Linked DNA regions of Homo sapiens: region 1 is linked to region 2. The links are contacts of gene promoters, found by promoter capture Hi-C in blood cells and fetal thymus (Javierre and others, 2016). All regions are on one chromosome and are shown on one strand. The core of a region is centred on a gene start or on the middle of the fragment in contact, and the rest is flanking DNA. Distances in the headings are between cores, read along the strand shown.

What was found. Contacts are between HindIII fragments. The CHiCAGO score rates a contact against its expected background, and 5 or more counts as called.
Region 1: a contact is called between a fragment that was not itself captured here and the fragment with the promoter of DEFB115 in region 2, in 1 of 17 cell types (erythroblasts). The highest score is 5.2, in erythroblasts.

What each region holds. Positions count from the first base shown.
Region 1 is chr20:31,493,244-31,496,393 of GRCh38, forward strand. No RefSeq gene overlaps it. Among named protein-coding and RNA genes, the nearest start is that of LINC00028, 9.0 kb to the left of the region's middle. The HindIII fragment of the contact is 2,603 bases long and covers 168-2,770 here.
Region 2 is chr20:31,256,269-31,259,754 of GRCh38, forward strand. DEFB115 (defensin beta 115) reads left to right here and starts at 1,396. Exons shown (of 2, transcript NM_001037730.1): 1 at 1,396-1,489; 2 at 3,192-3,364. The coding sequence starts at 1,396. The coding sequence ends at 3,364. The HindIII fragment of the contact is 8,626 bases long and covers 1-3,486 here.

The DNA.
Region 1 (3,150 bases), core at 219-2,718, 240 kb after region 2:
TCTTTCTTCCACCCTATCAGAATTGCAATTTTGCTCTGTTGTTCTCCTCTTATCTATGGAATCAAGAATAAATCCTGATTGCTTTACGCCAGAGATTAAAGGGGGACCTACAGTCCAGCTATGGCCAATGAAGTGTGATGAAAAGTTAACTGGAGGTTTCTAGGAAAAGCTTCTTTGCTCTTAGAAAAGAGCTTAATAAATAAATAAATAAATAAAAGAGCTGCAGCAGGAAGAGACCAGTCCCTTTTTGACAGGTCCCTGGAGTGTAGGAATGTAATACCTGGAACTGTAGACACCATCTTGCAATTATGATGGGATCTAGTCAGAGGATGACAAGGCAGAAAGATGGGGAGTACCTGAACCCTTGCTGATGAAGTCAAGCCTCTGAACACCAACCTTGGCGCTTCCCCATTTCTAGACTTACTGTTATGCAAATTTTCTTGAAGGATTTCTGGGCCAGGCACAGTGGCTCACGCCTGTAATCCCAGCATTTTGGGAGGCCGAGGTGGGTGGATCACCTGAGGTCAGGAGTTTGAGACCAGCCTGACCAACATGGCGAAACCCCGTCTCAACTAAAAATACAAAAATTAGCCAGGCGTGGTGGTGCGCACCTGTAGTCCCAGCTACTTGGGAGGCTGAGACGGGAGAATTGCTTGAACCCAGGAGGCAGAGGTTGCAGTGAGCCAAGATCACACCACTGCACTCCAACCTGGGCAATAGAGTGAGACTCTGGCTCAAAAAAAAAGAAAATTACGGGGATTTCTGTGCCAAAGTCTAAATCATCCATCTGATATGCATGTATGGGTTTGTTTCCTTTTTTCACGTAAGTGGGATTATAGCCATATGCATTAAGACCGAATTCCACTGCAAATCCAAAATAGCCGTGATAGAAACAGATAGAAGGGCACTTCTCTCTTATATAAATGAAGTCCACAAGCAGGCTGTCCAAGGGTGGCATGGCATTCCACAAGGCAGGAACTGTGCTTGCTTCTATCTTCTGGTTCCCTCATCTTCAGTACAATATGCTGCTCAAGCAGCAGCCATCATATTCACATTCCAGCCAGCAGGAAGCGGTAAGGAGTCAAAAAAGGCACAGCCTTTCAGAAGACACACACCTCTGATTACATCACGTTGGCCACAGCATAGTCACATGGCCTCACTTAATTGCATGGAAATTTAGGAAATGATTTTGTGATGTTTTTTGTTTTTGTATTTGTTTGGTTGGTTGGTTGGCTGGTTTTGTTTTTTTGAGATGGAGTTTCACTCTGTCACCCAGGCTGGAGTGCAGTGGCACCATCTCTGCTCACTGCCACCTCTGCCTCCCAGGTTCAAGTGATTCTCCTGCCTCAGCCTCCCGAGTAGCTGGGACTACAGGCAGACACCACCACGCCCGACTAATTTTTGTATTTTTAGTAGAGATGGGGTTTCACCATGTTGGTCAGGCTAGTCTCACACTCGTGGCCTCAATGATCCACCCGCCTCAGCCTCCCAAAGTGCTGGGATTATAGGTGTGAGCCACTGCTCCCAGCCAGGAAATGTATTGTATTCTAAATAGTCACATACCAGCTCAAAATCAGGGATTCTGTGTTTATGGAAGGAGGAAATAGATATTGGGGGACAAGTCAGAAAAAAAAAAAAAAGGAAAGACATTGAGAGATAACCAGCAATCAAGGGTCAACCAGTAATCTCTGCTACAATGCCGTACGTATCGGTTAATATGCTTTTTTCACTCAATGTGTACTGGCTTTCTATCCATGCTTTATTCTTATACATTTCCCTTGTTATTTGGGGGGTTATATTGTTCTTATTTTTCTATCTTCTTCAGATAGAAACCTCAATCATTTATTTGAGGCCTTTCTTCTTTTCCAATTTAGCATTGAAAGCTATAAATTGCCTTCCAACACTGTTCTAGATGCATCCCACAAATTTTGGTATGTTGTGCTTTTCATTATCATTCAGTTCAAAATATTTTCTAATCTCCCCTGTGATTTGTTCTGATTCCCATAGGTTATTCCAAAGTATGTTAATTTCAAAATATTTGGGGGTTTTCCATTTGTTTGTTTATTTCCACTGCAAATTTGAGACTTAATAATTCAACATATGGCCCATCTCGATGCATGTTTCATGTGCACCTGAAAATACTATGTATTCTGCCATTGTTGGGCATAATGTTCTAAATGCCAGTTAGGTCAAAGAGGTTGATAATGCTGTTCAAGTCTTCTCTATGCTTAGTGATTCTATGCCTACTTGTTTTATCAATTACTGAGAAAGGAGTGTTGTATGTGACTGTTTCTCCTTCCAGTCTGTCAGTTTTTCCTTTACCTTTTTCTTTTTCATGGCTGTACTACTTTTCTACAGTATGGATGTACCATAACATATTTTACCCATTGAGGGGCATTTAGGTTAGTGCAAATGTTTTGCCCTTCACAACAGTGTGACATTCAATATTTTTACATGTATAGAAGAGATTACCAAATTCAAATTTACTAGTCAAAGGGCACATACGTTTTACCTTTTGACACACCCTGCCAAATTGCCCTCCAAAGGGGCTGTTTTGTTTATATTCAGATGAATTGTGCCAAATTCCCTACTTTGTGACCCACATTAGATATTACCAGTCTCTTCTCATTTGACCTTTTATTGGGGACAAGATGAGAGAAAGTAGGAAGGAAGGTGTCTCATTGCCTATTTTGCTTTTCCCTAATTATAACAAAGTTGAGCTGTATTCTGCTCAATGACTGTGCCCTTTAGCTGCCCAAAACCACAGTGAAGCTTTGAAATTACAGCTTTTAAGGGCTGCATTAAATTCTGAGCCTAGACTATTTCATTCTTTATTCTCTGCCTGGGGTAGAGGAGGGTGCTTTATTCCAGTTACCAGAGCCTCGGTATCCAGTTACTGATACTCTTGGTATCAGCCTAGAGTCCTGATTCCAGAACAGGAAATCTGGCATCAGTCAGGTCTGAATTTGAATCCCTCTGGCTCAGCCATTTGCCAGCTCTGTGACCTTGGGCAAGTAACTTGGCCTCTCTGAACCTTTGGACAGTCAGTTTTACAAAGGAGGATGACAAGCACTTTGCATAGGTGTTATTTAGATTAGAAACTGGGTGTGTAAAGCACCTCTCACAGCACCTAGCACCTAGCAGTCATTA
Region 2 (3,486 bases), core at 146-2,645:
TTCAAAACTTGTGCCCTTGCAGTTTCCACTCAGGCCTATTAGTTCTGCCCTGTGGGCCTACAGAGAACATGCCTTTCAGATACTTGAAGACAGCAATTATGACTCTCTCCAGCTGTTTACTGCTTTTCAAGTTAAACAGACCTCTCCTTCCATCATTGCTCAGGCATAATCCTCTGGGATGACAGAAAGAACATGTTATCTGGGGACAGGTAACCCAGATCTGAATCCAGACCTCACTCATAGTCACTGTGTAACCCTGAGCACATCACACCTGCCTAACAGGGCTCCTGTGAGGATTCCAGGGGGTCATATATATAAAGTGCTTAGCATAGTTGCTGCCTGACAGTGAAAGTTCAGTGGATGACATTGATGTTCATTGCTTTCCTGAAGAAAGTTCTGTCCAAATCCTAAAAGCAAAACAAATTTCCTGAACCCCATCAGGTCCGCTGCCTGCATGTAGAAAGAGGAGAGTAAAACCGATGCACACTGGACTCACCCAAAGGCGGAAAAGGACAAGGAACCCAAAAAGGAAGATCCAGTGGGCCCACAGGCAGCCCTCCTAATGGAGCCTGGGCAGTGCCCTCTTCTTTTTGTTGGAAAAACAGCATGAAATATTTTTTGCTTTGTTGTTTGAGGCTGGAGTCCAAGAAAGACCCAGAAATGGTTGATATGAAGGATTTGGAGCAGGAAAATAGGATACAAATTCAGAGTTAAGAGCTGGACAACGAGTTGGGTTATGAGGGCTTCCACCCCAGTCCGTTTCTTTCTTGCTCATGGTAGGACCCTAGACAATTCTTTTCCACTCTCAGCCTGCATTTTCTTAGCTGGGAAATGCCAATTCTAAGAGCTACTGGGATACAATTATATGCCACATGTGCGTTCACTCACTCAGTGCTTTTCAACACATGTTCACTGTATGCTCTGGGTGTACCAAAATGACAGCCTGTTCCTAACCTCAGGGGTCTCACTGTCTATTAAAAGTTTCCCTTAGGGTATCATTCTGAATGGGAGGAGGAACTAGAAAAACACTTAGTTCCAGTGTGTCATGATAAACACACAGAGAAAAAGAAAACAGCAGCTGTGAGAATGTAGGGGAGGGGGATAAATTCTGAAGGAGAGGGACAGGAAAGGCTTCTTGGAGAAGGGATCTGTTCTCTGGCCAGTGCAACAGCCTTGGAGAGGACTTGTACCTCCTCTGCTCGTGCCTTTCACCATCCCCAAGGATATCTAGAGCAGGACCCTGAACACCGGATAATCAGTTTATACTGCTGAGTGGCAGGCTGATGTTCTGGGTGGTGTAACATTCTGCCCTTCTCTAATTTTTTGTCTGTGAGTCAGCCTTGCCTAGGTCAATAAAATGCTGAGTGCACACCCAGCTTCCCCAGCACACTCAGAATGCTGCCAGATCATTTCTCACCCCTCTCAGGAGACATTAAACTCTCTGTCCTGGCCTTAGTTGTCCTTGTGGTCCTGGCTCAGACTGCCCCAGGTAAACAGAACCATGGAGAGAAGGGAAAAGGGAGTAAGGATGGGGTCCTAACCACAGAATCACTGGAAAATTGAACATGTGTAGAAGCAAGGAGAGCCCACAGGGATGGCTGAGATCTGATGAAAGGCTTATAATGAATATGCTCCCATAAGAAGGGCAGCCTGTCAGGCCTGACCATGGTGGTGGTTCTCATTAGGGAACCTGGAGAATATCTGCAGAGGCCAAGGTGTTTTATATGAAGTCCCTTCCATATGCAGAAGCAACCCCAACATCTCTAGTATCCTGAATGCCTCTGGCCCATATGTCAACAGTCTCATCCTGTGAGTCTCTCACTTCAACCCCACTTTCAGTTGATACTACCTCTTCTAATAATCAGTCTCATTACTTCACTTCTCCACTGTTGTTGGGCTTTGAGTGCTCCTTTAAAGCAGGCAGAAGAGGCAACTTGCTCTTGTCTTGGAATATATGGTGAAAAAGTTGTAAGTTGATGTTTGATATCTACAGGTTTATAAAAACAGGCTCACAGTATGGAGCTGGGGTTACAGCAGAAGATTTTGGCTTTCAAGTTGAACACGCTCAAAGCTCTCTAACAGTATAAACAGGCATCATGGCCAGGTGGTGAATAACTTTCTAATGGAAATGTTTTCCCCTTAGGCTTCCCAGGGGCTCTAAAGTTGATGATTTTTAATTCTGTGATTTCCTTTGGGTCGTTGCTGTTGGAAGTCACATCCTCTCTTGGAGCAGCTATTCAAGCTGAAAGCCTTTGCCAATCACTCAGTTGTTCTAGAAGCAAAAGAAGGTTATTCTGGGCTAACCCTGAGTTGGCTTGAGCATGCCTTATGTTCCAGCGAGGGCAAGTAGAATAGAGGGAGTTGCAGATGCAAGAGACATTTTGGAGAAAGAATCTACATATTGACTTATGAAATACTGGAAGAGAAAAGTGAGAGTCAATGTGACTGATTTTTTTCAGCCTGAACATTCTGGTAAAAGACAGAGAATTAGGAATTATCTCCCAGAAGAAGAGTTTGGGGAAAAGACAAGTGGAAAGAATCTGTAGTTTAGATTAAGATATAATGATCCCTCAAATGAATCCAATGTGCTGAGAAAACTGGGTTTGCAGTCTGCGTTGACTTAGAGTCACAGAAAATAAATCAGAGAAGGGCACAGTGTTAAACCCTCCCTGCACCCACCCCCCAACACACACACACACAAACACAACTTCAGCCTGCAGCTCAGAAATGTAAATTGGTCATCCATTGTTCAGGGTCTTGCTTTAAACAACCCCTGGGGCAAGCACCCCTAGAACAAACAATGCCTGGCACATAGTAGATGCTCAACAAATTGTGGTTAGATGAATAATGAATGGAGAGAGGATAAAAAAGATAATTGAAGGCTTAGTCCCACTCCCTGGCAAGCATCTAGATTTAGAGAGGAAGTAGAACCAGATTTAGTGAGACTGTGAAAAATGACAGAGAAGAAAGTATCATAAGCATAGGAATAAAATTCAATTAGAGCTGATTAGAGGAAGATAACTACTCCTAGTCATTAAACATGCACAAATTTATAACATTCCCATGAATGCCTTTAAGTGTCAAAATCAATGTTTCACTCTAACCATTATTACTATTACCAACATCCTTTCTTTAATTGTATTTATTTTTCAAATGTATTTATATATTCATGTGTTTGCTTATTTTGATAGATGGATGGATCAGAAGGTGCTATTATGGAACTGGCAGATGCAGGAAATCATGCAAAGAAATTGAGAGGAAGAAAGAAAAATGTGGGGAAAAACATATTTGCTGTGTCCCTAAAGAAAAGGATAAACTATCACACATTCACGACCAAAAAGAGACAAGTGAGCTATATATCTAGTTGCGACTCCTAATTCAGAATTTTAAGTCATTATAATGAGTCAATGAAATGGCTATCGGGGGCACCTGCATTTTCCTAGATCTCTGTCAAGTCTTCACAGGGCCCGTTAGAAAAACAAGCTC